Linked DNA regions of Homo sapiens: all the other regions are linked to region 2. The links are contacts of gene promoters, found by promoter capture Hi-C in human tissues and cell types (Jung and others, 2019). All regions are on one chromosome and are shown on one strand. The core of a region is centred on a gene start or on the middle of the fragment in contact, and the rest is flanking DNA. Distances in the headings are between cores, read along the strand shown. Region 1 overlaps PCBP3 (poly(rC) binding protein 3). Region 2 holds the start of SLC19A1 (solute carrier family 19 member 1). Region 3 overlaps POFUT2 (protein O-fucosyltransferase 2). Region 4 overlaps PCBP3 (poly(rC) binding protein 3). Region 5 overlaps PCBP3 (poly(rC) binding protein 3).

What was found. Contacts are between HindIII fragments. The study calls those that stand out against the background at their distance.
Region 1: a fragment that was not itself captured here is called in contact with the fragment with the promoter of SLC19A1 in region 2 in 6 of the 25 tissues and cell types used here (H1 embryonic stem cells, IMR-90 fibroblasts, aorta and 3 more).
Region 3: a fragment that was not itself captured here is called in contact with the fragment with the promoter of SLC19A1 in region 2 in 1 of the 25 tissues and cell types used here (mesendoderm cells).
Region 4: a contact is called between a fragment that was not itself captured here and the fragment with the promoter of SLC19A1 in region 2, in 5 of the 25 tissues and cell types used here (H1 embryonic stem cells, IMR-90 fibroblasts, aorta and 2 more).
Region 5: a fragment that was not itself captured here is called in contact with the fragment with the promoter of SLC19A1 in region 2 in 1 of the 25 tissues and cell types used here (dorsolateral prefrontal cortex).

The regions. Positions count from the first base shown.
Region 1 is chr21:45,879,413-45,885,164 of GRCh38, reverse strand. All of the region lies in intron 5 of PCBP3 (poly(rC) binding protein 3), which reads right to left. Among named protein-coding and RNA genes, the nearest start is that of PCBP3-AS1, 46 kb to the right of the region's middle. RefSeq lists an enhancer at 3,786-4,590. The HindIII fragment of the contact is 4,995 bases long and covers 1-4,749 here.
Region 2 is chr21:45,540,652-45,546,564 of GRCh38, reverse strand. SLC19A1 (solute carrier family 19 member 1) reads left to right here and starts at 4,125. Exons shown (of 6, transcript NM_194255.4): 1 at 4,125-4,197. RefSeq lists silencers at 3,852-3,931, 3,972-4,281, 4,632-4,691 and an enhancer at 3,485-3,997. The HindIII fragment of the contact is 13,138 bases long and covers 1-5,913 here.
Region 3 is chr21:45,267,220-45,272,890 of GRCh38, reverse strand. It overlaps POFUT2 (protein O-fucosyltransferase 2), which reads left to right. Exons shown (of 9, transcript NM_133635.6): 7 at 2,872-3,052; 8 at 5,178-5,301. Among named protein-coding and RNA genes, the nearest start is that of POFUT2, 18 kb to the left of the region's middle. The HindIII fragment of the contact is 5,405 bases long and covers 1-4,917 here.
Region 4 is chr21:45,850,910-45,856,775 of GRCh38, reverse strand. The region is part of intron 5 of PCBP3 (poly(rC) binding protein 3); the gene reads right to left. Among named protein-coding and RNA genes, the nearest start is that of PCBP3-AS1, 17 kb to the right of the region's middle. RefSeq lists enhancers at 794-1,469, 1,470-2,146. The HindIII fragment of the contact is 8,241 bases long and covers 1-5,866 here.
Region 5 is chr21:45,800,988-45,806,909 of GRCh38, reverse strand. The region is part of intron 4 of PCBP3 (poly(rC) binding protein 3); the gene reads right to left. Among named protein-coding and RNA genes, the nearest start is that of PCBP3-AS1, 32 kb to the left of the region's middle. The HindIII fragment of the contact is 9,548 bases long and covers 1-5,922 here.

The sequences.
Region 1 (5,752 bases), core at 1,003-3,502, 340 kb before region 2:
TATCCAGTGAAAATAATCAGGAATAAAGACATTATGGGATGAAGGAAAATGAAGAGAAGTTGCTGCCAGCGTGCCTACGCTGGGAGAAGGCCTAAGTCCTCTAAACAGAAATGAAATAATGATGAAATCTTGGAATATCAGGAAGGAAGAAAGAACATAGTAGGCAAACATGTGAGTGCATAGAAAGGCTTCACTCTCGAGTCCTCTAAACTATGATTGATGACTGATGCAAAAATTACAGCATTGTCTGATATGTACAGAATGCTTAGGAAATATTTAAAGCAACTACATCATAAATGAGGGACAGTAAAAAAATTATAAAGGAAGTTACAGTTTCTTCCCTCCAACTGGTGAAATGTTGACAGCAGTAGAATTGGTAACACATATATGCCTGGGCAACATGGCAAAACCCTGTCTCTACAAAAAAATTTAAAAAATTAGCTGGGTGTGGTGGTGCCTGTCTGTGGTCCCAGCTACTGGGGAGGCTGAGGTGGGAGGACGGCTGGAGCCTGGTTAGTCGAGGCTGCAGTGAGCCATGATCGTGTCACTGCACTCCAGCCTGGGCAACAGAGCAAGATCCTGTCTCAAACATTATACATGCACACACACGTGACATATATGTATATTTAGATGTGCATGCATGTTGCATATGTGTATGTTATATATGTGTATGTATACATGTGTATATACATGTGCTACATATATATATTTGTGTGTGTATATATATGCTATATACTTAGTATTCAGTATGTGTGTATATATATGATATACTACCTACAGCAAGCACTAAAAAAGAAAGCCATACAGATATATACTCTAAAATGCTACTGATAAAATAAAATTCCAAAAAAATGTACACTGACTCACAGGAAGAAAGAAAAAACTAAAACCAGAGAAACAAAAAACAAAGCCAACAAAATTAAAAATGAGGCTGGGTGCGATGGCTCACGCCTGTAATCCCAGCACTTTGGGCGGTCAAGGTGGGAGGATCACTTGAGCCCAGGAGTTCAAGGCCAGCCTGGGCAACACAGGAATACCTAGTCTCTACAAAATATAAAAATAAATTGGCTGGGCATGGTGGTGCATGCCTGTGGTCCCAGCTGCTTGAGAGGCTGGGGTGGGGGGATCACTTCAGCCCAGAAGAGGCTGCAGTGAGCCATGATCACACTACTGCACTCCAGCCTGGATGACAGAGTAGGGCCCTATCTCAAAATAAATAAATACAAAAGATAAATAAAAGGTGAAATGGCAGATTTAAGCCCTAACATCTCAATACCGTAATAACTTTAAGTATAAATGGTCCAAATACACCAATTGAAGCACAGATGGGCAGAGTGGATTTAAAAATATGACCCCATCATATGCTGTCTACAGAAAACTCACTTCAAATAGAACAATATAAGCAAACTGAAGATAAACTAATGGGAAAAGGCGTATCGTGCAACCATTAATCAAAAGAAAGCAGGAATGGCTATATTAATATCGGAAAAAATAGACGTCAGAGCAATGAAAATGATCAGAGACAGAGAAGGACATTACATAATGATAAAAGAGTCTAAATAAGCAATAGCAATCCTAAATGTGTATGAATCAAATAACAGAGCTGTAAAATATGTGAAGCAGAAACTAATAGTAGTGAAAAGAAAAATATAAAAATCCACAACGACAGCTGAAGACTTTATTACTGTCAACAACTGAAAGAACCACTGGGCAGAGAATTAGCAAAGGATTTGGAAGGACTCAACACCATCAACCAACGGGGCCTAACGAACACTTCCGGAACACTCTGTCCAGCATCAGCAGAATCCACACTCTCTTCCTGCATGTACAGAATCTATACCAGGATAGACCATACCCTTGGCCATAAAAGAAACCTCAGCAAATTTAACAGAATTGAAACCGTAGTGTATGTTCTCTGACCACAGCTGACTCAAACCAGAATCAATCATGGAAAGATAACAAGAAAAGTTCCAAGCACTTGGAAATGAAACACATATATGAACAATCCAAGGGTCAAAGAGGGAATCTCAAGGAACATCAAAAAACACATTGACCTGAATGAAAATAAAAACACAGCATATCAAAAATCGCAGGACACAACTACAGCAGTGCTGAGAGGGAAACCTGTGGCACGAAACACACACATTTGAAGAGAGAAAAGCTTCCAATCAATAATCTAAGCACTCATTTTAAGAATCTAATAAAAGAAGAACAAAATAAATCCAAGTAAGCAGAGGAATGAAATACTAAAGACCAGAACTTGGCGCTGGTGTAAGAACGACATGCAGGCCGGTGGAGGAGAGCGGAGAGCCTGGCAGGAAACCCCGCAGCTGCAGCCAATCCATCTACAATAAAGACACCAGGAACACACACGGGGAAGGACAGTTTCTTCAATAAACGGTGTTGGGGAAACTGGATGTCCCTGTGCAGAAGAATGAAATTAGACCCTCATCTCACACCATCTATAAAAATCAACTCAAAATGGGTTAAAGACTTAAATGTAAGATCTGCAACTGCAAAACCACTAAGAAAAAACACAGGGAAAAATTCCACGACACTGGTTTAGTTAATGATTTTTTTTTAAATATGGCCCTCAAAGTACAGGCAACAAAAGCAGAAAGTAGAGAAATGGGATTATATCAAACTGAAAAGCTTCTGCACAGCAAACAACAGAGTGAAGAGACAACCTAGGGAACTGGAAAAAAAACTGCAAACCATACAACATCTGATAAGGAGTTAATACTCAAAATGTGTAAGGAACTCAAACAACTCAATAGCAAGAAAACAAATACCAGATTTTAAAAAAATGGCAAAGAAACGGAATGGAAGCTTCTCAGAAGGAGACATACAAATGGCTAACAGGTATATGAAAAAGTGCACAACATCACTAATCACCAGAAAAATGCAAATTCAAACCACAATGGGATATCGGCTCATACCTGTTAGAATGGCTATTATCAAAAAGACAAAAGCTAAGTGTTGGTGAGGAGGTGGACAAAAGGGAACCCTTGTACAGTGCTGATGGGAAACTTAGTACAGTCATTATGGAGAACGGTACGGAAGTTCCTCAAAAAACTAGAAATAGAACCACCACAGGATCCAGCAGTCTCACTTCAGGGCATATACCCAAAGTCACTATAGTGAGGAGACACATGCAGGCCCGTGTTGATTGTGGCACAACTCACAACAGCCTAGATATGGTGGAATCAGCCTAAGTGTTCATAGAGAGACGAACGGATAAAGAAAATGTCACACACAGACATACACACAGAAAGAAGCCATGTCATCTGTGTCACTGCGGATGAACCTGGAGGACATTATAACAAGTAAAATGAACTGGGCACAGAAAGACAAATACTGCATGATCTCACATGTGGAATCTAAAAAAGTGCATCTCACAGAAGCAGAGGGTGGGAGGTGGCTGTCGGGGACTGCGGGGGGTTGGGGGAAATGGGAGCTGTTGGTCACTGGCACAAGTTCAGTTAGACGGGAGTCAAACAGGCTGGGGAGCTGCTGTGTGGCACAGTGACTATGGGTAAGAACAATGTATACTTGAAAATTGCTGAGAGTGATTTTAAATTCTTTATAGAGATGGGGTCTCTCTATGTTGCCTAGGCTGTTGCCTGAGGTAGGCAGGTCACTGGAGTCTAGGAGTTCAAGACCAGCCTGGGCAAAATAGACCCCATCTCTACAAAATGTTGAAAAAATTAGTTGGGTGTGGTGGAGTGCACCTGTGGTCTCAACTCCTGGGAGACAGGTGGGAGGATCACTCGAACCTCACCACAAACAAAGGTATGTGAGGTGATGGATATGTTAATTAGCTTGATTTAATAATTTCACACACAAAAAACATGAACACATAGAATTCAGCAATATACCACAAGAATTACATGCTATAACCATTCTTCCTGTGATGCAAGGCTGGCTCAGAGTTGGAAAATCTGTCTGTGTAATCTACCTTATTAACAGACTAAAGAAAGCACACAATCATATCAATGCATGCAGAAAAGCCTGTCACAAAACTCCATACCAACTCACGATAAAAATTAAAATGCTCAGAAAAAAACAGGAATAGAGGGGAACTCGCTCAGCTTGATGAAGGCCAGCCAGGAAAGCAGCCACAGCTGTGGCCCGCAGCTGGCCCAGGCATGTCCACTCAGGAGCACTTGGCTGGGCATGAGCTGCCTGACGCTGCCAGTGAGCTTCTAAGCTTGGACTCACCCCGTGCTGAAGCCCCTGGGTACCTTCCCACTGCTGTGCTGTTTAACCCCGGCCCTGAGCCTCCCGTCCAGAGCCCAGCACCTACCCCCTTGGTCTTGTTTGTCACTGCTCCCTGCCCTCCCGCTGGCTCCCTGGCTTCCGTGGCAGGGACAGGGTGAGTTCTCCCACCCACTTATCAGGACCTTCTTCTGGAGGGTATTGCCTACCAGGCTGTACCTACAACCCCGTCTCTCCTGGCCCTGCTGCAGTCACCTGGGGCCACCCTGGCACCGAGAGGGCAGAGGGCACACGTGTCTCCTCCGTTCACCACTGAATCCCCAGTTCCCAGCACCACTCTTGGCCCACAAGGGGGCGCAGTATGTATTTAAGGATTAGACAGATTCACACCATGAGCACTGAGCCCAGCTCAATTTCCACGGCCTCGTGGAACGTTCTGAAATTCAGCGATTTCTAAACTCAATACTCAGAAGCACCGTAATCCTATTTTCTCCCACACCACCCACTCCTGCGTTTTTCATTCAGACAGTCACTGAGGGTTTGCTGGGGGTCTGCTGTGGGGGTCCCTGTGGCCCACAGAGGCGGCACAGGGCTGGGTTTGGGCCATGGCAGAAGAAGTTGTGTGGGGTCAGGACCGCGGCGCCCCAGGCGCTCCCCTCCCCTCCGAGGCCCAGGGCCAGCAGGGTAGAGCTTTCCAGGAGGGCAACTGGGGAACCAGGCAACAGTCCTGCTTTCGAAGGCTGGCCGTGACTTGCAAATCCACCAGCTCCCAGAAGAGGCCAGAGGAAAACCACTCACGACAGGAACGTCTTGTCAATAAAAAGGATGCAGAGAAAAATGCCACGAAACCAGGATGGACTCTCACGCCACACAACAAACGCAGACAGCAGAGAACTGCCACCGTTTTGCAAGCTCTTGAAACCCATGATTGTTTCTGTCCTTCCTTTATTTGAACTACTCCAATGTGAAGAGGCTTAGTTCTGTTTTTAATTTCATTGGGTTTGGGTCTTGATTATTTACTCCCTTCTGCTTGTTTTGTTTTCTTTTTTTAAAGTTTCTTCAAGTGGAAGCTTACATTATTGTTTGAAGACCTTTCTTCTTTTCTAATGGATGCTGTCATGCTATAAATTTCTCTAGAGGCACTGATTTACTAGTATCCTATAGGTTTTTTTTCATTTTCTCTTACTTCAAAGTATTTTCTAATTTTTTTATACTTCCTCTTTGACTAGGGCATTATTTAGAGGTGTGTGTTTTGATTTTCAAGTATTTGGAAAATTTCCAGTTATCTCTGGTTATTGATTTATAGTTTAATTCTACTGTGGCCAGAAAATACATTTTATATGATTTAAATTATTTTAAATTTGTTAGGCTTTAGTTTTTTACATGGAATATGACCTGCCTTGGGGAACATCCCATGTGCACATAAAAACCACGTGTACTGTGGTGTCTGCATTGTCTGCAGGTCTCGGAAGCTCCATTCATTTCTCCCAGTCCTTTTTCTATCACTCGGCATGGATCATTTGTACTGAGCTGT
Region 2 (5,913 bases), core at 2,876-5,375:
GTCTGGCTATAGGGAGACTTGGGGGCATCGGGATTCAGTGTTCTGCTGCTGGGCCAGGCAGGGCTCAACTGGGAGGGGCTGGGCCTGCTAGGGCCGCTGTCCGGGGCCCCAGTGGGGCTCAGAATTCAACTCCATGCCCAGAGGACCAGGTGGGACACCCTTCCAGGGAAGAAGTGTGGCAGGCACAGGCCCAGGTTAGCCCCACTGCTGTGGGGCTGTGACAGGCTGTGAGGGACCTGCGCTCACTTGGGGGATGCGGAAGCCAGGAGCTCCGGGGCTCCAGGCAGGCCAGGGACAACGCTTCTTCCTCTGGGCTTTGCTTCTCCGCTCAGCTGCCACAGGGCTTCTGGCTTCTGGCTTCACAGACAAGGTGCTGAGGACGGTGGCCCGGCTCAGCCTCTGAGAGGATGGGGGCCACAGCTGCAGGCAGGCCTGGGCTTGGGGCTAGTGCTGGGAGGCCTGACACAGGGGCATCCATGTCAGTCCCCCTTCTCCAGACCTTTGGGCCCCTAGGCCCTTGTGATGGGCTACCCCTGGCCGCTGGGAGTGTTAGGAGGTCAGCTCGTGGAAAAAGTGGGGGCGAAGGCCTGGCGGGAGTGGGGGCTGGAGAGAGGGGCAGCTGCAGCAGAGACCCACTGGCCAGCAAGCCAGGTAAGGCATTTACAGGGCGCACCGCACCTCTACCAAGCAGATTCAGATGGGAGCAGAAGCACCTGTCATTCAGCAAGGTGAGACTGGGGAGACGTCTGGAAATGTGGGAGGAAAAACTGGCTGAGGCCATGTGCAGGCCAGTTCACTGCACATGCTGGGGCATGGCAGGCCGGTCCGCGCCCGTCTTCCTGCATATGGGGTGCCGTCTGCACGGGAGCATGCATGTGTATGTCTCTGTATCTCTGTGTCATGTGTATGTCTGTATGTTTACGTCTCTGTATCTGTGCATATGTCTTGGTGGTGTCTGTACGTGTGTGTACGTATGAGGGGGGCTGTTTTTGTGTTGCTATAAAGGAACACAGAGACTGGGTATCATAAAGAAAATAGGTGTAATTGGCTCACGGTTCTGCAGGCTGTACAGGAAGCATGGTGCCAGCATCTGCTCCTGGTGAGGCCTCAGGAAGCTTCCACACATGGTGGAAGGTGACGGGGAGCCAGCGTCACATAGCAAGAGTGGGAGGAGGGGAGGGCAAGGGGGGGGTCCCGGACTCTTTTAAACAACCTGCTCTTGAGTGAGCTAACTGAACAAGAACTCACTCATCACCAAGGTGATGGTGCTAAGCCATTCATGAGGGATCCGTCCTCATGATCCAACACCTCCCGCCAGGCCCCACTTCCAACACTGGGAATCACATTCCAACATGAGATTTGGAGGGGACAGAGAATCCAAACCACATCAGTGTGTGTGCGTGTCTGCGCATGTCTGTGTCCATCTGCATGTGCACGTCTCTGCACGTCTGCATGGATCTGTGTGTCTCTGTGCATGTGTGTCCATGTATTAGCATTTGGTCCAAGCCTTGCTTCCAGAGCCACAGCCACCACAACAGCACCAGCTGAGGGAAAGGGCTGCTCGAATGCCACTGCCTCCCTATGCTGACGGGGACCTTAACCACAGGGACAGCCCTGCGTCTCTCCAGCCAAGGCAGAGGACTGGCCGGTTGGTCTCAGAAGGCAGTGGGTGGGCAGGGTCCTCATTCTCTGGCAGAGATTTCTTGGGCCTGGACTATGGGTGCTAAGGCTGCCGGGGAGTGGGGGCCCAGGAGCTGGGGATGGGGCACTGCTGTGGGGTGGGCTGCAGAGCCCACCTGAGCCCCTCCAGGAGGGGAAGGGGTCTCTGCGGCCTGCAGCCCCCAGACATCACTGTATATGGCTGGAGCCTACAGGCTGGAGGGCCGGGATCCACACTGCTGGGCCCCTGCTGATCCCTCCAACCCAGGGCTTCTCCCAGGGACCAGCTCTCCCTGCCATCCCTGACGCTCAGGCACTTAACTATTTGACAAACCGATAATGAAACACGCAAGGACGGGGACCGCTGGAGGCTCGTGAGGGCCCAAGCACAGGATCCATTCCCAGATGCCAGTGTCACTCCCAAGTCACCTGCGTTTGTAAATCTCTATTTTGGGTGGAGCCCTCTGGAAGCCCACGCCCCACTGTCTGTGGCCACTCCTCGCAGTCCTCAATGGAGGTTTCTGTAAGTTCTTCACGAGTCTCCTGGCTCTTCCCTCAGAGCAGCTGCCTCTAGATTACAACTGCCAAGTGCTGTTGGTGGCAGAAGCCCTACCTCCCCACTCCGAAGCAGCTCCTGCAGGAAACCTGGGCCTTGTGTGGCTGGGGAACTCCCAGGACTCCTGCCACGCAGGGGGACCCGAGGGCAGCTTGGGCAGGCCCCTCGCGGCCGGGGGCGGATTCGCTCGGCTACACCTGACCGGAGAGACAGGTGAGGGACTGGTCTTTGTGGGTCCTGCGGGGTCCCCTTGGGGCTGTGGCTCCCTGCCTTGCTGTCTCCAGGCGGGAAGGGGGTGGGAGCCATCCTTCTGTGGGAAGGGGTCTAGGAGCCCCGCTGCTGTTCATCCCCACTTCCCCTCGGCTTCCTGGCCTGTCCTGCGTGTAAAGGGAGCAGGCTGCCCTGGCGAGCTGGCCCCATGGCTGGCTCCTCTCTGCCTGGAGGGAAGGAAGGGCCCCTCCTCCTCCGCGTTGCCCCTCCTGTCTTCCAGCAGGGCCAGGTTCTGCCCACCCGTGGAGAAGGCCAGTACAGGGGAGAGAGCCAGGGCTCCCACAAAGCAGGGGGTCCCTCCAGGTGAGGCGCTCCATCCTGTAGTGTTCCCTTAAATTCTGCAAGCTACCCCAGATCCCCCATTTCCAGCCAACAAATCCTTTTTAAGTTCCTTTGAGATTTGTTCGTGTGGCTTGCTACACTCAGGACTCTGGAAAGAAGGCCCAGGCCAGAGCTTTGGGCAGGCGGCCATTTAGGGCAAGGGCCCTGTGTTGGCTTCCTGGTGGGGTTGCCCTGCTGGTGGGCGGGAGACCAAGAGCACCCCCGCAACACCAGGAGGCAGGTCGCGGATTGTGCTGTCTACACTCCGGAAGGGGTACATTCCAGGGGCTGCTGCCCCAGACTCACCCCTCGCCTGGGACCCGCACTCTTGAGCTGTGGGTACCACGGTGGCCGTCCCCTTCTGTTCTGTGCAGTGGACTTCCTGGCTCCTCCTTAGCCTTGGGGCCCCCACAGCCCTCGGCTTGGCTTCCCTCCCCATAGCCAGGCCCTGGGTAACTCCAGGGGAAAGTGACCCTGAGGCCCCCCACTTCTCCCCGTGTCCTGCACAGGCCTTGGGCTTTCGGCGGTGCTGTCTGCCGCAGCCCCACGCCTTCCTGGGAGAGTGGCCCAGGCCCCCCTTCCTGAGTGTGACTGCGCTGCCGTCTGCGAGGCCTGCGCGGGTCTCCCCCGGGCTGTCCCTGCTGGGATGGGGACTGGTGGCCCCGGGCCACGTCCTGGATCCGGCTTGCTCCTTGGTACAAGCCCGTACGGGTCACGGTCAGGCAGGAGGGCGGGCGGCGGGGTCCCGGGGGCGCCGAGTTCGGGGCCGTGCGGTCCCCAAGAGCAGGCTGTGCGTGTCCCTGTTGGAGCCCCACGAAGGCGGCCCAGGGCCACCCCTGAGGGCGCGTGGGCCCGACCCGCGTCCCGGATCCAGCTTGCGGCCAGGAATGCAGGTGTTCCAGGGTGCCAAAAGGAAAACGCACAAGGCCTCGTCGAGGAGGGGGGGTCAGGAGGGGACCGGGGGTGGGAAGAACGCGGGGGAGAGGGATGGCAGGGTGCCCGCCCGAGGGACCGACACCTCCGCGAGTGGCACCCCAGGATGCTGACGCCGGCGGGGGTGGGGGCCCGAGGGGCGGTCGGGGTCAGGGGGCGGCCCCAGGGGTAGGGCCGCAGCACGAGGGGCCGCGTGACCCCGGCGGTGACCGGGTGGGGAGAGGCCGGCGCCGGGGCTGGGAGACGGCCGTGGGTGGGAGGGTGCCCCGTGGGGACGCTCCTGCCGCAGCGCCCGGCCACGCGCGAGGCCCCGCCCTCAGGACGCGTTCGGCGGGACGGACCCGCCCACCCCGCAGCCGCGCGCCCGCCGCGCCGCCTTGTGGGCGCTGTAGTCCCGGAGTCCGCGTGCGCGGGGCCGGGTCCGGGAGCCCCAGGGCAGCCGCCCCGCCGAGTCGCAGGTACCGGTGGGGAACGGGGCCACGGGGCCGCGTGTCGGGGGCTGCGGGGTGTCTCGGGGCCCTGGGGTGAGTGCGGGGCGCGGGCCGAGGTTTGCAGGGCCCTGTGAGGTGAGTGTGGGGGCTGGCGCTGGGGTCCGCGGGGCCCTGGGGAGGGTGCGGGGCGTGGGCCGGGGTCTGCGGTCTGCAGCCTGGGGTCCGCGGGGCCCTGGGGAGGGTGCGGGGCGTGGGCCGGGGTCTGCGGTCTGCAGCCTGGGGTCTGGGGGGCCCTGGGGAGGGTGCGGGGCGTGGCCGGGGTCTGCGGTCTGCAGCCTGGGGTCTGGGGGGCCCTGGGGAGGGTGCGGGGCGTGGGCCGGGGTCTCCGCGGGGGTCGCGGTGGCCCGGGCGCCTGGCAGAACCGTTGCTGTGCAGCGGGTTTCCCGCCGCTCGCTTTCCGCCGCAGCCTGCGAATGGGGTGGGGAGTCCCGGCCCCCAGCCTGCCCTCCGCGTCATCCTGGGGCGCCAAGTCCCACCCCCGGGTCTGGAGGAAAGCGTGGATCCGGCGTTCGCGCCCAGGCACGTGTTGCTTCGGGACGGGCCAGCCGGTGGGTGAACCCTGCCAGCCACGCGTGGGGCGGGCCCCTGGCACATCTCCAGACCATTGTCTCCTGTGCCAGAAGCTTTGTAGGTGCAACTTCCCCTTGGAGCAGCTGTGGGTGCGGATCCAGCGGAGCAATCCCGAGGCGTCTCAGAGAGAGCCTGGACAGCCGCTGGAGCCTTTCCCGAGTGGGTCCTTCCAACACCGCTACAGCAGGAAAGCCATCCCCCTAGGGTCCTGTCCATCGGAAACTCCTGTCCTGGGGAGTCTGGCCTGCCTGGCCTCAGGACACAGGCCAACTAAGCTGGCCCCGAAATCCAGAATGCATCCAGAGGGAAGGTGGGATAAAGTCCTTGGAGGCGCCTGTTGGCCGCCCTGTAAAGAGGTGGCCTCCCCCTACGGAGACCCGAGGATCCCCGCACAGCCCAGATTCAATCAGCAGAGCCGAGGTGCCTCTGGCCCAGTGCACCTGCCTGCCCTGTCCAGGCCTGGGAGCCAGGCTGCATCTCACTGGCCGCCTTTGCCTGGGTGCCACCTGTGCACTGCTTGTTGCAATTGCTAATTGCTTTCTTTCCGAAGGGGCTTTGGTGGATTTTTATAATTCCAGATAGTACAGTTATCTCTGCTGGACACAGATGAGAAAGAGTGCTTCTCGGGTGTTTGGGCCTGCAGCAGTGATAGCCGGAGGGTCTAATTATGCTGTTAGGAACCCTGAACTTGGTCATCTGAACAGGGGTGGGAGGGTGTGCAATGCTTTCTTCTTCTTCTTTTTAAACTAGCAGGCGTTCTAAAAAACATAACGAACATTCTTGGTTAGCCTTCCAGAGTAGGAGCTGGTTTAAACACGGAATGATAGGTGGCGTTTGCTTGTGTTTTGATTGCGGGTCTCTGGCCTTCTCTGGTGCTTGGAAGGACAGGGCCTGGGTGGGGCTGGTCACTGTGGACAGTGGGGCCGGGGATTTGCAGGGGCTGTTACAACCTTCTCCTGAAGGCAGGGATTCTCTCTGCTTCCCCGTGGCCCTCCTGTCTGGTCGGGGACTTCCTTCAGATGCCGGGAAGAGGCCTCAAGCTGTATGGGACTGGGCTGGGGTCTGGACACTTGGAGTCTAGGCGTCCCCTGGCTTGGGGCTGCGTTTCTATGA
Region 3 (5,671 bases), core at 966-3,465, 270 kb after region 2:
GTGTCCCAGGGGTTTTGATAAGTTATGTCAGTGTTATTGTTCAGTTCAAAGAATTTTTAAATTTCCATCTTAATTTCATTGTTGACCCAAAGATCAGGAGCAGATTATTTAATTTCCATGTGTTTGTATAGTTTTGAGGGTTCCTTTTGGATTTAATTTCCAGTTTTACTCCACTGTGGTCTGAGAGGGTACTTGACATAATTTTGATTTTCTTAAATTTATTGAGGCTTGTTTTGTGGCCAATCATATGGTTTATCTTGGATAACGTTCCATATGCTTACGAACAGAATGTATATTCTGCAGCTGTTGCGTAGAATGTTCTGTAAATATTTTAGTCCACTTGTTCCAGGGTATAGTTTGAGTCTATTGTTTCTTTGTTGGCTTTCTGTCTTGATGACCTGTCCAGTGCTGTCAGTGGAGTATTGAAGTCCCCACTTATGTTGTATTGCTGTCTATCTCATTTTTTAGGTCTAGTAGTAATTGTTTTATAAATTTGGTAGCTCCAGTGTTAGGTGCATGTATAATTAGGATTGTGGCATTCTCCCGTTGGACTGATCCTTTTATCATTATATAATGTTCCTCCATCTTTTTTAACTGTTGTTGCTTTAAAGTCTGTTTTGTCTGATATAAGAATACTACTGTACTCGCTTTTGGTGTCCATTTGCATGGAGTATCTTTTTCCACCCCTTTACCTTAAGTTTGTGTGAGTCCTTATGTGTTAGGTCAGTCTCTTGAAGACTTTTGCCTCACAGCTTTCAGGTGGATTTTTTTCCATTCTGCCATTCTGTTTCTCTTAAGTGGAGTCTCTAAGCCATTTACATTCAACTTTGGTATTGAGGTGTGAGGTACTGTATTCTATTCATCATACTAGTTGCTGCCTGAATACTCTGTTTTCTTTCTTTTTCATTGCGTTGTTTTATATGCCCTGTGAGATTTATGCTTTAAGAAGGTTCTATTTTGGCGTATTTTGAGGTTTTGTTTCAAGATTTAGAACTTCTTTAACATTTCTTGTAGAGCTGGCTTTGGGAGTGGTGAATTCTCTCAGCATTTGTTTGTCTGAAAAAGATGATCTCTCCTTCATTTATGAAGCTTAGTTTTGCTGGATATAAAATTCTTGGCTGATAATTACTTTGTTTGTGGAGGCTGAAGATAGGACCCCAGTCCCTTGTAGCTTGTAGGTTTCTGCTGAGAAATCTGCTGTGAATCTGATAGGTTTTCCTTTATAGGTTACCTGGTGCTTTTGGCTCACAGCTCTTAAGATTCTTTCCTTCATCTTGACTTTAGATAACCTGATGACTGTGTGCCTAGGAGATGATCTTTTTGTGATGAATTGCCCAGGTATTCTTTGAGCTTCCTGTATTTGGATGTCTAGATCTCTAGCAAGACCAGGTAAGTTTTCCTCAATTATTCCCTCAAATAAGTTTTCCAAACTTTTAGATTACTCTTCTTCCTCAGGAACACCAATTATCCTTAGGTTTGGTTGTTTAACATAATTCCAAATTTCTTGGAGGCTTTGTTCATTTTTTTTACTATTCTTTTTTCTTGTTTGTTGGATTGGGCTAATTTGAAAACCTTGTCTTCGAGCTCTGAAGCTCTTTCTTCTCCTGTTCTAGTCTATTATTGAAACTTTCCAGTGTATTTCGTTTCTTTAAGTGTGTCTTTCATTTCCAGAAGTTGCAATTGTTTTTCCTTTAAGATACCTAGTTATCTGGAGCATTTTTCATCCATATTGTTGTTGTTGTTTTTTTTTTAATTTCTTTAAGTTGGTTTTCACCTTTGTCTGGTATGTCCTTGAGTAGCTTAATAATGAACCTTCGGAATTCTTTATCTGGCAATTGAGAGATTTCTTCCTGGTTTGGATCCATTGCTGGGGAGCTACTATGATCTTTTGGGGGTACTATAGAACCTTGTTTTGTCATATTATCACAATTGCTTTTCTGCCTGCTTCTCATTTGGGCAGACTACTTCAGTGGAAAGATCTGGAACTCACGGGCTACTGTTCAGATTCTTTTATCCCACGGGGTGCTCTGTGGCGCTCTTCGCCTTCCCCTAGGGATGGGGCTCCCTGAGAGCTGGGCTGCAGTGATTGTTATTGCTCTTCTGGGTCTAGCCACCCAGTGGGGCTACCAGGCCCTGGGATGCTGCTGGGGAATGTCTGCGGAGAGTCCTGTGCTGTGATCCGTCTTCGGGTCTCCCAGCCATGGGTTCCAGCACCTGCTCTGCTGGAGGTGGCGGGGGAGTGAAGTGGACTCTGGGGGGGTCCTTGGTTGTAGTTTTGTTGAGTGCACTGGCTTTCTCGAATGCTGGTTATGCTGCAGTGAAGTTGTCACGTGGACAGACTCGGGACCTGTGGACAGCCAGGAGGTTGCAGGTGGTGGGATTAGCTGTTGCTTTCTCCTTCCTTGGAGCAGGGTTGTTGGTTAGAATTTGCTGTAGCCATTTGCGTTGGTGGCCTCCAGCCAGGAGGTGGCACTGTCAAGAGGGCAGCAGAGCATTCTGGCTCCCGGGGAGTTTGCAGCTGTGAGCTGCTTTGTCCACAGGATCCGTGAACTCTTTGTGGCACGTCCCTGCGGTGGTTCTCGGAGGAAAAGTTCACAGCGTGAGCCTCCACATGCTGTTCTCTTTTTAAATATTTTTCTTTACCTCAGATAAAATGATTTCTGGTAATTAATACTGCTTCACTGTCTTCTTAGAAAGACATCTGGTCGCCCCCGAGATTCCACCTGAATCCCTTAGACAGCCCTGGAGCCACCCCGTGGAGGAGGCCACATGGAAAGGGTCATCCCTCTGCGTCTCGAGTCCCACCCGGTGCCCAGGATGAGCCCCGAGCCCGCCTGTCAGCTTCTGCATTTCCTTGTGGTTCTTTGCTAGGTCAAGCTGGGCTCCGCGCTAGGGGGCCCCTACCTGGGAGTCCACCTGAGAAGAAAAGATTTCATCTGGGGTCACAGACAGGATGTACCCAGTCTGGAAGGGGCCGTGAGGAAGATCCGCAGCCTCATGAAGACCCACCGGCTGGACAAGGTGTTTGTGGCCACAGATGCCGTCAGAAAGGGTATGGAGCTTCAATGCTTTCGTTTCTTTCCTTTCTTTTAATTTATTTTTTTTATTGATAATTCTTGGGTGTTTCTCACAGACGGGGATTTTGGCAGGGTCATGGAACAATAGTGGAGGGAAGGTCAGCAGATAAACAAGTGAACAAAGGTCTCTGGTTTTCCTAGGCAGAGGACCCTGCGGCCTTCCGCAGTGTTTGTGTCCCTGATTACTTGAGATTAGGGATTGGTGATGACTCTTAACGAGCATGCTGCCTTCAAGCGTCTGTTTAACAAAGCACATCTTGTACCGCCCTTAATCCATTTAACCCTGAGTGGACACAGCACATGTTTCAGAGAGCACAGGGTTGGGGGTAAGGTCACAGATCAACAGGATCCCAAGGCAGAAGAATTTTTCTTAGTGCAGAACAAAATGAAAAGTCTCCCATGTCTACTTCTTTCTACACAGACACGGCAACCATCCGATTTCTCAATCTTTTCCCCACCTTTCCCGCCTTTCTATTCCACAAAGCCGCCATTGTCATCCTGGCCTGTTCTCAATGAGCTGTTGGGTACCCCTCCCAGACGGGGTGGTGGCCGGGCAGAGGGGCTCTTCACTTCCCAGTAGGGGCGGCCGGGCAGAGGCGCCCCTCACCTCCCGGACGGGGCGGCTGGCCGGGCGGGGGGCTGACCCCCCCACCTCCCTCCCAGACGGGGCGGCTGGCCGGGCAGAGGGGCTCTTCACTTCCCAGTAGGGGCGGCCGGGCAGAGGCGCCCCTCACCTCCCGGACGGGGCGGCTGGCCAGGCGGGGGGCTGACCCCCCCACCTCCCTCCCAGACGGGGCGGCTGGCCGGGCAGAGGGGCTCTTTGCTTCCCAGTAGGGGCGGCCGGGCAGAGGCGCCCCTCACCTCCCGGACGGGGCGGCTGGCCAGGCGGGGGGCTGACCCCCCCACCTCCCTCCCGGACGGGGCGGCTGGCCGCCCGGGGTGCTGACCCCCCCACCTCCCTCCCGGACGGGGCGGCTGGCCGGGCGGAGGGCTGACCCCCCCACCTCCCTCCCGGACGGGGTGGCTGCCGGGCGGAGACGCTCCTCACTTCCCAGATGGGGTGGCTGCCGGGCGGAGAGGCTCCTCACTTCTCAGACGGGGCGGCCGGGCAGAGACGCTCCTCACCTCCCAGACGGGGTCGTGGCCAGGCAGAGGCGCTCCTCACATCCCAGATGGGGCGGCGGGGCAGAGGCGCTCCCCACATCTCAGACGATGGGCGGCTGGGCAGAGACGCTCCTCACTTCCTAGATGTGATGGCGGCCGGAAAGAGGTGCTCCTCACTTCCTAGATGGGATGGCGGCCGGGCGGAGATGCTCCTCACTTTCCAGACTGGGCAGCCAGGCAGAGGGGCTCCTCACATCCCAGACGATGGGCGGCCAGGCAGAGACACTCCTCACTTCCCAGATGGGGTGGCGGCCGGGCAGAGGCTGCAATCTTGGCACTTTGGGAGGCCAAGGCAGGCGGCTGGGAGGTGTAGGTTGTAGCGAGCCGAGATCACGCCACTGCACTCCAGCCTGGGCACCATCGAGCACTGAGTGAACGAGACTCCGTCTGCAATCCCAGCACCTCGGGAGGCCGAGGCTGGCGGATCACTCGCGGTTAGGGGCTGGAGACCGGCCCGGCCAACACAGCGAAACCCCGTCTCCACCAAAACCAGTCAGGCGTGGTGGCGCGTGCCTGCAATCGCAGGCACTCGGCAGGCTGAGGCAGGAGAACCAGGCAGGGAGGTTGCAGTGAGCCGAGATGGCAGCAGCACAGTCCAGCTTTGGCTCCGCATGAGAGGGAGACCGTGGAAAGAGAGGGAGACCGTGGGGAGAGGGAGAGGGAGAAGGAGAGGGAGAGGGAGCACGTTTCTTTCCTTTCTTCTTGATCCCTGGTTCTGTTCTGGGTAGACCTGGAACTACCCAGATCCATGAAGATCTGCATGATCTTCAACTGTAATTCCTGGGAGGGTAAAGCTGAGTTGTGTGTCTGCACCTTTGGAGCCAGTTCCTAACGAATTAACCAGAAGCCAAGTACGCATGTCTGTCTGCTAAAGAGTCACGTATCTGTCCTTACTGGAGGATCCCGGTTCAAAGGGTCTCTCCTTCTACTTTGCAGAATATGAAGAGCTAAAAAAGCTGTTACCCGAGATGGTGAGGTTTGAACCCACGTGGGAGGAGCTGGAGCTCTACAAGGACGGAGGCGTTGCGATTATTGACCAGTGGATCTGCGCACACGCCAGGTGCCTGCCCACGTCACTGTCGGCCGAGAGCGGGTCGGGTGGCTTTCAAAGGTTCTTCTGTCCCAAGTACTCGGTGTCAGAGCAGATGGTCGCCTGTGTTCACAGTGGTCATTTCCATACTGTTTGCCTCCTCGTCTGAGTCTCCTGTAGCATCTGGTTCAGTGTTTCCCTGGGCTGAAGTTAATTGTTCATCTTGCCCCTTTAGTTCTCATGCACAGAATTCCTCCATAGCAGGCTGTTGGCATAGCTGGCCTCGTCTCAGAACCTCTTCTTGTGTCGCATTTTCCCATCATTCCCGGTTTCTGCCCCTGTCTGCCCCCTGCCCTGAGAGTTGCCCGTGCCCTGGACTTGGGCATGTCCTTGTTGCTGT
Region 4 (5,866 bases), core at 2,792-5,291, 310 kb before region 2:
GGTACATGTTCTCAGGACCTCCTGAGGGCTGCGTCACAGGCCATGGTCATGCAGATTTGGCTCAGAATAAATCTCTTCAAATATTTTACAGAGTTGGACTTTTTTCTTTGACATCAGGAAACTTGCGATCATGGCGGGAGGCAGAGGAGCAGGCACGTCACCGGGGCAGAGCGGGGGTGGGGGGGGCGTGCCACACACTTTTACACAACTAGGTCTCCTGTGAACTCAAGGACAAGAGCTCGGTCATCACCAGGGGATGGCCCAGGCCGTTCATGGGGAAGCCGCACCCATGACCCAAACACCTCCCACCAGACCCACCTCCAACACTCGGGATCACATTTCCATGTGAGATGTGGGTAGGGCAAATATCCAAGCTCTATCAGATGAATTAAAAGATGTTCTGATGGGTACTTGGTTGAATGAGTTAAGTTACTATCTGAAGGCCTGGAATCAATAGAAAGGAGTGTCTGGGTTAAGAGAAGGGGCTGTGGAGACCAAGGTCCTTATTATGTGGATGAAATCTCATAGGTGTCCACCCTTAGAGGCAATACATGGCAAATGTTTCCTATTCAGACCTTCACAAGGCACTAGACTCTCAGCCAGGCTCCTCAGGATTGGGAGGGTCTGGAAGGGGAAAGATCCAGTTATGTTAATACAGGTTCTTTACAGATGCAAACTTTCCCCCATAAAAGATGGCTTTGGAGGCCCATTTCAAAATATGGCAAATAAACATATTTTGGGGTAAAATATTTCTGTTTCCTACTTTATCTGTCATGTGATGTGAAGCCACAGTCAGATTGAAAAGCCACGTTATATTGGGTTAAATAAAACCTGTCTCATGAGATGTTACGGTTTGTACGGTGTGACTCCCCAGGCTCCTTAGATAGGAATTTGGGCAAGAGAGGAAAAAGGTCAGAGTTTAGTCCTCTCTCCAAGCCGAGCAACTTCCCTGGCAGGAGGTTTTCTGTCTCCCTGGGTTCCACCCGCCTGTCACCTCTGCAGCGCGTTCTGTGCCTGTGTGGGGTCCGGCCCTCAGGCCATCGGGCACTTGGATCCCGGGCAGAAGGCAGACAGACACGTGGGCCTGACCCCACACACTGCATGGCCTGCAGCACAGACCTAGGGTGGCGGGGTACGGAGGCAGCCTTGGGTCTCATTTAAATCCCAGAGAGAGCATTTATATCTCAGATGTAGGAGGCAACCGGCCTGGTTGGGTTCAGGCTTCAACTCTAAGGGGCTCTGTATGTGGTTCCCACGTTGGTTGTTTCGGTCTTTGCAGGGCTCTCCAGGCCTTCCCACGCATGCCCCCCTCTGTGCTGGTGGGGTGTGGGGTCTGGGAACTGGGCAGCAGTCCACCCCATGGTGCGGTTCTCAAGGTCTGTGATGGGCTGTTTGAGGGCGGATGTGTGTATGTGAAGCTGGGGATGAGTGTGGGAGAATGCCCAGCCCTCTCCGTGGGCTTCCGGAGCCTGCGTCTGTGCTGGCCTCCCTGTGCCTCCCAGATCCCAGGATTCCTCTTTTCCCTCCTGCAGTCGGGAAGCTCCAGCTCTGTGCACTGGCTTCCCAGGTGCACTCCTCCAGGATCAGCTGTGGGAAAGCGCAGAGAGAGAGAAGGCACTTGGGCATCGCTGCCAGACTTGGAGAGGAAGGCTCCCTCCCTCCGTGGTGGAGCCTGGGGGCCCCTGCGGACCCCCTTGGCCATTCCTGGCACCACTATTGTCGCCATAAGGCTGCCTAGGGTCCCCTTTCCTGCTCTTCGAGCTGTTCCGAGAGGCTCCTCCTGGAGCTCTCTGTCAGCTTTCTGCCATCTTCTGGGTTTCAGCCTGCTGTGAACTCAGGCAGGAGAGATCGTAAGTTTCCATTTCCTCCAGCACTCCTGCTACTTACTTCTCAGACCACTGCATTCCGCGGGGCAGAGGCTCGGAGTGCTTGCTCCACCCACCCAGAGCCCACACCCAGCTTCATTTCAGTCTCATCAAAGAGCATCTTCTCCTCACAGTGAACAATCCAAGAGGGAAATTAAGAAAACACTTCTATTTACAATAGCATCACAAAGAATAAAACACTTGAGATAGGCACACACAAGGGCACCGCTCCTAACAGCCAAACGGGTGAAGCCTTCCTGTCCACTGATGGCTGCAGTCTTTACATACAACAGGATATCGGTCAGCTTTCAAAAGGAAGGACATTCTCACACATGCCACAGTGTAGATGAACCCTGAAGACAGCAGACTAAAAGAAAGAAGCCAGATACAAACAGACAAATGCCATATAATTCCACGTGTAGCGGTCCCTAGAGCAGTCAGATTCCTAGAGACAGAGAGTAGGATCCTGGGTGCCAGAGGCTGGGGGAGGGAGGGTTTAATGGGGACAGAGATTCAGTTCAAAAAGTTGAGAAAGTTCTGGAGATAATGGTGGTGATGGCTGCCCAGCATATCCCTGAACTGTATGCTAAAAAATAGTTAAGATGGAAAATTCTATGTTATGTACATTTTACAACAACTAAAAATAAAAACAAAAATAAATTTTAAAAAAGCATGTGTGGTAGCTGACACACATGCAGGGCAGGAGGAGTCGTATTTGAGCCTGCAAGTCCAGGCTGGCCCTTGCATGGAACAAACCGCACAGCCTCTCAGGGCCCAGGTTACTGAGCTGTGAAACGTAGAGGCCTCATCCCACCCCTTCCATCTCTCTCCCAGGCCCAACTTCACACGGATGCTGCTCTTTGTGTTTCTTTGCGTTTTTGTCCCCCCCGCCCCACTCTTACCTTTTTGGAAATCTCTTCTCTTCCTAGCCTCGTGCACAGAGGCTGAGATGCGGATATCAGTTTATGACACGTCGGCACCACCGCTTCCTGGGAGCGGCTCCTGCCCCGTACCATCGGCTCCTTTTTATTCTCACCGGCCCTTATCACCACCACCTGCCACTGCCACCACGCAGGAGCCCATTCTAAAACACCGAGTGCCTGACTCTTACTCACATATGCTCTTGCAAAGTATGTGTGTATTTAATTTCCTATGCACGCGTCTGTACTCACACAGGCAGAATGGTTTAACACCACTCATGTTTCTTAGCTTTTTAACCCAGTGAGGCAGGAGAAGAGGGCCTGCAGGGAAGAAACCTAAGGTCTTCCTAGAACTAAATCAAATGCAAACACTTCAGCCATGACAGGAACACCCTCTCCATTCACAGGGGTGTACACCAAGTAACCAATGGAAACCTGCAGAGGGTATTGAAACCCCAGAAAATTCTGTCGCTGGGGCCCGTGAGCTGCTTGCTCGGGCTGCTCCCACCCTGTGGACTGTGCTCTCATTTTCAGTAAATCTCTGCTCTCACTGCTTCATTCTTTCCTTGCTTTGTTTGTGTGTTTTGTCCAATTATTTTTTCAAAACGCCAAGAACCTGGACACCCTCCACCAGTAACGCCAGCCCTGCCTTTAAGGGCCATTGGCACACCCAACCCACGGCATCTGGCTTCTGCCACAGTTAGGTTTTCACTCTTCTAGGCAGGGGCACTGAGGTCACCTTCCACCCCGACATCCACGGAGCACAACAAGGAGATGCTGTGTGCATCTGTCTCCATGAACCCGTGGAGATTTTGTCACCACAGAGATGCAGGACAGCATGCCAGGTCACAGCAGGCTCCAGAGAAGACATGCCAGCCCACCCCCTCTGGCCAGCGGCATGTGCACTTTCCGCATCTGCTCCCAATGCCTGGTGCGAGTCCACTGCCCGCTCCTGCTGGTCTCAGCTGTGGGAAGTGTACACGCCATGTCACTCTGCATCTCTCAGACAAGAAGTGAGTTTGCACATCTCTTCACCAGCCTTTTGTACTTCTTCTTCTGTAAACTGTCTTTCCGATCCTTCACCCATTTTTCTATAAAAGTTACTGTATTAGTTTACTATTGCTGATGTTACAAATTACATCACAAATTTATTATCTTCTATTTCCAGAAGTCAGAGGTCTGAATCAGATCTCACTAGACAAGTCACGGTGTTTACAGGGCTGTGTTCCTTCTGAACAAAAGTCACGGTGGCTGCAGGGCTGTGTTCCTTCTGAACAAAAATCAGTGTGGCTGCAGGGCTGTGTTCCTTCTGAACAAAAATCAGCATGGCTGCAGGGCTGTGTTCCTTCCGAACAGAAGTCAGGGTGGCCGCAGGGCTGTGTTCCTTCTGAACAAAAATCAGCATGGCTGCAGGGCTGTGTTCCTTCTGAACAAAAGTCAGGGTGGCTGCAGGGCTGTGTTCCTTCTGAACAAAAGTCAGGGTGGCTACAGGGCTGTGTTCCTTCTGAACAAAAGTCAGGGTGGCTACAGGGCTGTGTTCCTTCCGAACAGAAGTCAGGGTGGCTGCAGGGCTGTGTTCCTTCTGAACAAAAGTCAGGGTGGCTACAGGGCTGTGTTCCTTCTGAACAAAAGTCAGGGTGGCTGCAGGGCTGTGTTCCTTCTGAAGGCTTTGGGGAAATTTTCCCTTGTCTTTTCCAGGCCACGTTCCTTGCCTCGACCTTCGAAGCCGTCAGCTTTTTTTAAGCTTTATTTATAATTGACGCATAATAGTTGTACATATTTACAGGATACAGTATGATGTTGCAATACACGTATACATTATTTAATGATCAAACCAGGGAAATTAGCATATCCATCACTGTAAACATTTATGATTTTGTGATAACATTCAAAATCCTGTCTTCCAGCTATCTGGACAGACATATTATTATTAGCTATAGTCACCCTATTGTTAACAGAACACCAGAATTTACTCCTCCTGTCTAACTTTAACTTTGTACCTGTGGACCAGCCTCTCTTCTTCCTAGCCTCAGGGCTGGGGAGCTTTATTATCTATTTTCTGAAACAATCTGTGTAAGTTAGAAATCAAGTGTTCCTTAAAGTTAGGTATAATTCACCCATAAAAATGTGTCTGAGAACTTTTTTTGAATGGAAGTCTTTGATTGTCACTTAAATTTCTTTAGTATTATTGGCTTATCCAAGTTCTCTATTTCTTCTCAAGTCTATTTTGGCACTTCCTATTTTCCCAGGAAGTTATCAATTTCACCTATGTTTTCAAATGTGTTAGCATATGGTTTCCCACAGTACTCAACTTTTCTTCTTGGCTGTATCTATGGTTATTTCTTTACCTATCTATCTATCTATCTATCTATCCATCCATCTATATTTATTTTTATTTATTTATTCACTCATTCACTCCTTTCTATATTCTGTTCCATCGACTGTCACCAGTATCATCCCTTCACTTTCTTTCTTTTTTTTAAGACAATCTCACTCCATGGCCCAGGCTGGAGTGCAAGGGCACAATCTTGGCTCACTACAACCTTCTCCTCCCGGGTTCAAGCAATTCTCCTGCCTCAGCCTCCCGAGTAGCTGGGATTAAAGGCACACACCACCACACCTGGCTAATTTTTGTATTTTAGTAGAGACAGGGTTTCACCATGTTGGCCAGGCTGGTCTCAAACTCCTGACCTCTTGATCTACCCACCTCGGCCTCCCAAAGTGCTGGGATTACAGGCGTGAGCCACCACGCCCGGCCCTTCCACTTTCTTTAACCAAAGATCTAACTATTGACTCTAAAACACAAAACAGCTTTCAGGGCTGTGAATTTTCTGTTTTTCTGTGCTCTCTATTTCACTGATTTCTGCCTTATGGATCCTTGGGCTTTCTCTCTTGCTCTTTTTTCAGCCTCTTGAGTTAATTTTTCATGTTTCTTAACACGTGTTTATAGCTACAAATGTCCTTCTAAGCACTGCTTTAGCTGTGTCATGCTAATTTGGACATATACTGCCTCATAATCACTCAGCCCTAAAGTTCTTTTATTTCTTTTATGATTTTATTTCTAACAAGAGTTTTTTATAG
Region 5 (5,922 bases), core at 2,401-4,900, 260 kb before region 2:
GAGCCAATGACAAGGAGCTCGGAGCATCTGATGAGAAAGAACAAGAGCAAGGCAGGGAGGCCGGCATCTGGAGAGGGCAGAGCCCAGTGCCTCAGTGCTCTGGGTGAGGGGACCAGAAGTGGAATTCTGAATGCAGGCTGCTCCTTGGCCCCAAAGAGATGTTCCGTGGGGTGTGGGGACTCTGCGGCCTGGGTCCCTGGCCCTTTGGGGTCTGCTTTGTGGAGGACTCTTCACTAGAGAGGCCCTGGCTGGTCCCCATGACTCAGCTCCTCATTCTAAAAAAGAACGATGAAATACCCACCTTTCAAGGTTGTGAAAAGTACTCTGTAATTTGCAAAGTGCTACACAAATGAGAGAACTTCAAGCCTTATTTTCCCAGCATAATTCTAGAGTAAAAATACGAGATAAGAAAAGGGGACAGAGAAAAGTAGGAGGACTGCATTGGCCATATTGTTCTGAAGGCATCCAGGGCCACATTGAGCCAGGGTGCGGTTATGTGCCAGTGGATCTGAGAAGAAAGGAGGACTTGGCCCTGTACTCCAGGAAGAACACGTCTCCTGGCCTCACCTCCACTTCCCTTTCTGTGCAGTGAGGGGTAGCTGGCAGCAGCCCTCAGCTCCCACCCTGCTCGAGTCTCTGCATGCACTTGGCCAAAGGGCGGAAAGGCCGCCGTTCCATCCAGCACGGGAGTACAGCCACTTGTCCGCACCAAGCCTGCCACGAGGGTGATTCTGCGATTCTGCAGCCGGGTGGCTTTGCTGGGGTCTTCCACACTCTGTGCAGAGCTGCTGGTCCTCAGACACATCACACCTGCTCTCTGCCCAGTGATAACCCTGGAGGCAGCAATGACTCAGAAGCTGAAGAAAAAACATCCCAACATGACATTCGTGTGGACCGCCCTCTCTAATGCTGAGACACAGCAGCACAAGGAGGCTCCTCCATCTTCTCATGCAATGGGAACCTCACAGACTCCTGGGTGGAGAGGCCTGGACTTCCCCTCATGGCCCGCCCCCCCAGCTCTGCTCTCGCCCTCCTTTCCTCAGGACCATCCGAGTGTGCAGGTGCTAGGAGGGAATGCCACCTTCGCTGCCACAGAAAGACAGGAGCGCGCTTTCCTCAGGACCACTCCAGTGTGCAGCTGCTAGGAGGGGATGTCACCTTTACCACCACAGAAAGACAGGAGCATGCCTGCAAGCTCAGGTGCAGGGATGAGCTGCCAGCAGCAACGGCTGGTCCTTCCAGTCACACTCTCCCTGTGAAAATGTGCTTGCCCCAACTGTTGACACAAAAGCAGACAGGAAGCATTATCTTCAAGGTCCCCTAGCTCGATTTTAGGCACCTGTATGTGCCGTTCTGCCACACTGCCCACAAGGCCTCTGAGCACCTCGTTGGCACCAACCCAGGTGGCCCCACTCTGCTGGTGGGAACCTTGAGGCAGTGGATAAGGGAAGACAGGGGGCTCCAGAAGGAAGGGCTGCCCATGGCCACCTCCGCACGGCCCAGCACACAGGGCAGGTGGGCAAGGGGGGTGCCAAACCCCTGCTTGTTACCAGTCACACCCACCCATAATCTTCCAATTACTTTCCCCCCCAGACACCACCTGGGGGGTTTTCAGCTCCCCCAAGCAAATGACCAGAGAGTCACACAAGAATGCCTCTTCCTATAGAAGGTAGGCTTCCGGGGAACAGCCTTAGACCCTGCCATGGGGGCCAGGCCACAGGGGTGTGGCTGTGGCATAGTGCCCGGCTAGGAAGCGCCATATGTGGTAGCCATGGCCCAAGATGACGATGCCCAGAGTGGCACAGGCCTTCCCACACACGGCCTGGGGCTGCACGGCTCTCCCCACAGCAGGGCTGTGCCATCACCACGGGATCAGGCGGTCACAGCATCCAGGCAGTGGGAAGCCTTTATCTACGTCACTGACACCCTCCCGTGAGGCCCATTTCACAAAAGCACAGGGCCTGCCACGGCAGGGTTAGAATTTCAACCATGCCCAGCTCTGAGCTGGTAAGCCTGACTCCCAGGAACACGGCCTGGCCTTCCTGTGCTGCCTCTCTCGGGGGCAATCCTTCCTTCCCACCCCTCCTGCTTGTGGTGGCAGCAGAAGGACAGGCCCAAGGTGAAAACCGTCATTCACACACAGGAGGTTTCAGAAACTATCTTCATGTGGCTAAAACTGGCCAACACTACAACCCAAGTGACTCCTGAAAGTCACTGTGATTTCAGGAGCCGAATGCCTGGTGCGTGGACACATCAGCAGGACAGCAGGGACTGGGGAAGCAGCAGTCCTGGTAAGGACAACAGAGCCCAGGCAATGGACCAAGGGACACTCAGGGTCAGGGGGGTGCAGAATAAATACAAGTCTTTCATAAGCAAATGCACACATTTTCACCAAACATCTCCCCCAAGACTAGGATCTTCAGTAAGCTCCCCGGCTCATTTCCATGGCTTTTGGTTTTGCCAGTTAATCGTGCTGTTTCACATGGTTTGATATTGTACACCACCTCAAAGCCTTTCAAATAGCTGGAGTAAATCAATATAATCTACATGGATGGTGTGGGCACTAGGAGGCAAAACATTTTATACCATTTTTATTAATAATAAGTTACCAAGATGACAAGATATTGTACCACTAATTCTAAAAACAGAATCCCTCCAAAGGAGTACTGTGAACACGCCAGAGCCTGCAGCACAAAGCCCGGTGCACAGGAGGGAACCAACGTGTAGGTGCCAAGCGAAACAGCAATGGGGTAAAAAACACTACAGCCACGCGGGCAGCAGAGAGGGAGGCGCGGCAGCAGGCAGTGGGCACCTGTGGGCTGGGCCTCCTGTTCCAGGCAGACAGCCACCTCCCCTGGAGGCCCACAACACCACAGATGAGGAAGAGAAGCACCACAGATGTCTCAAGGATGTTCAGTGCCAGGACGCCCCCAAGGCACCTGCACTAAGGTCTAGGCGTCCTTCATCTCAGCGAGGGCACAAGTGAGATACAGCACAGTAACAACATTCATGGGAAGGGACTCAGCAGCCCACCCCAGCAGGACCTGGGCCATCCGGTGCCCTGGCACAGGGTCACCTCCCGAGGCCTGACTATGGCAGCGAGGCCACGGGGAAGCCATGTTCCAGGCTGTCACCATCTGGGTCCTGGAGAAGCTCAGGGGCCTCTTGGAGCCCATACTGCTCCAGGTTCCTCTGGGTTACCCCAGGTTCATGCCCAGCTTGGCAGTGCCCAGGGACCCTGGGGTGGGCATCAGAGCCAAGCACTGTGCAGGGCAGCTCAGCACACCTTCCTGCCCTCAGTGTCCTGTTTGCATTTAAACTTCATGGGAAAGCTCCCGGCACTGGCAGTATAAAACCACCACGGCTTTTTCCCGACCTAACAACAGACTGCAGGATTCTTGGAGAAAGGGTCATCCTTGGGTGGAGAGGCCTGGACTTCCCCTCATGGCCCGCCCCCAAGCTCTGCTCTCGCCCTCCTTTCCTCAGGACCACCCCAGTGTGCAGCTGCTAGGAGGGGATGCCACCTTCACCACCACAGAAAAGAAACAATAAAAACAATAAAAATGGCTGCTGTCATTGACCAAACCATTCTGGGGGTGAAAGGTAAACAAAGGTCAATCTGCTTATTTTAAAGCATGGCCAGCTGCATGTGCAAAAAACACACCAATACCCTTGCATGGCCACTACCCCCAGCAGAAAGGTGGGCTCTGCCACTCAGACTGTAGCCTCTGCCTCTGCTGAGAAAGTGAGGAGGGGACGCACCCACACAGCTGCAGGCACACCAGGCTGGAGGCAGAGACAGGCTGTTTTCTCAAGTTGCTTTGTGACTGACTTCCAACGAATAGATAAAGAATCAGAACAAGTGTTTGCACAACAAAACAATTTTTGTTTTCAAATTATGACTGTACAATGCAGACGGGAAATGTTATTTTTTATTGAAAACAAGAAAAATCATTAAAAAGAACTCAAAGAGATTCAACAGTAAATATATGAGTATCAATGAAAAATGCACCAAGACCTAGTGAGTCGTTTATACACGACAAGGGTTAAAAGCTTTTCCCTCCGTGGCCTGTGTGTGGTTTCCCTAGGGTTAGCCCTGCTCAGGGCCCTCGGGGACCCTTCCCATCCCTGCCTCCTCCCAGCACCAGCCCTGGAGGCCCTGCCTGGGGTCCTTGGGGACACGATGCCCCTCCTGCTCCTGCCTCCCTCAGGGCCTCTCCTCCCCATGAAGGAGAGGAACATCCCAAACACACAATCTGACCTCCTGCCCTGCTTAGAGCCCCACCATCCTCCCCCAGCCCGGTCCTCCTCCTCCGTCAGCCTGTCCCCATCTCTTACGTCTCCCAGGGGCTCCTGTCCCTTCTCCAGCATGGCTCACTTTTGCTCTCAGAGCCGTCTCTGCAGAGCCCTCTGGGCCACGTGCCCTGACACTCACACCACCTTGGGCAGCCCGGGCACAGGACAACGTAGGCACTCAGTAAGTACAATTGTTTTTAATGAACAAGCTAAGAAGAGGCGAGTGAAGGGAGGTGATGCCATCAGGGCTGTCTTGAAAGAGCATCCTGACCATGGAAGACAGGACGCTTCAGGAACACAGCAAGGGGTGGTGCTGACGCAGGGGCCGGACAGCTAGCTCACCCCCAGCCCCAGCACCCAGCTGTGAGCCTCTGCACCCAGCCCACTTGCATGACAGGGCAGAAACAGCGCCCAGCTGCAGAGCCGCTACCAGGAGAATGTGGGCAGAAAGAGCTTGCACTGGGCCAAGGCCTCTGCCCAGGATGGCATCCAAGGGGTCTGAGGGTAAAGGAGGGAGCCCCGCTAACCACCCAGCCCAGAAGTCACTGCTGAATCATGACGATGCCCTCAAGGAAGAGGAGGGGAGACCCCGAGAGCCACAGAGGGACAGTCAGTGTCACAGGACAACCGAGCGGCTCCACTGATGACGCTGAGATGTTCGGGAGGGATGTGCACCATGAGATCACAAACATGATTAACCTGCAGAATCTGATTAAACTGAGTAGATCATGGGGAGTAATTATATGGGTTTGGATCTCCACATACTGTTTTTCTATTTCCACACTGGATTATTTAACCTTGTCTTGCATGCACAAGCCAAATACTTGCTAATGCAACAAATTAGCAAATGCAGTGACAGGATCTGAACAGCACATACTGCCCAGAATTCCTTCCAAAGAATACTGCAGCTAAAGGCAGAAAATGAGCAAAAGGCATATAAGCAGAGTGCATCCAGGAGGATCTACTGAATCAAGTATGTCACAACAAGTGCGGCTGTGAAGGCGGGTCAGTGACCAGCACCTGGCCAGATGCTGTGAAGATGGGTCAGTGACCAGCACCTGGCCAGACGCTGTGGGCATGGCATGGTGGCCCCTCTCTGAAACCCATGTCAAGAAGAGCAAATGTACCAAGGCCATGGAACCTGAGTGTGTCTGTGGCCCTGTCCCTGTGGCTGCCTCAGCTGCCGCCATCTGCTCCTCTGCAGCTCCTTGTGCACCCAGGGGCCCTGCAGCCAGCAGGGAGGGGCCAGCCCAGACACTGGCTGTCTTGTAGGAGGTGGGTAGACAAGGGCAGGACTCAGACAGACTGGCCACCGGGGCTGTGAGTGGGGACAGAGGAGCAGCTAAGGCAAGGCTAGCAGCCAGGGTCCCCACAAGGCTGGCCATCAGAACACTCCAGGGTCCTCATGACACCCCCATCCACACAGGGAAGTGGATGTGACCTTCTCCCACAGGACGCAGTGGCAGTGAGAGCCAGGCTGTGGGTGCTGCAGGTGGCACGACAGGACGGGTGAGTGGGGAAGTCACAGGTGATAGAATGATGGCTGGTGCCATTGCCAGAGTTGGAGAGTGGCCATAGCAGAGCACGTTCCAAGGTCAGAGCGAGTGGGCATGCTGGCAAGAACGG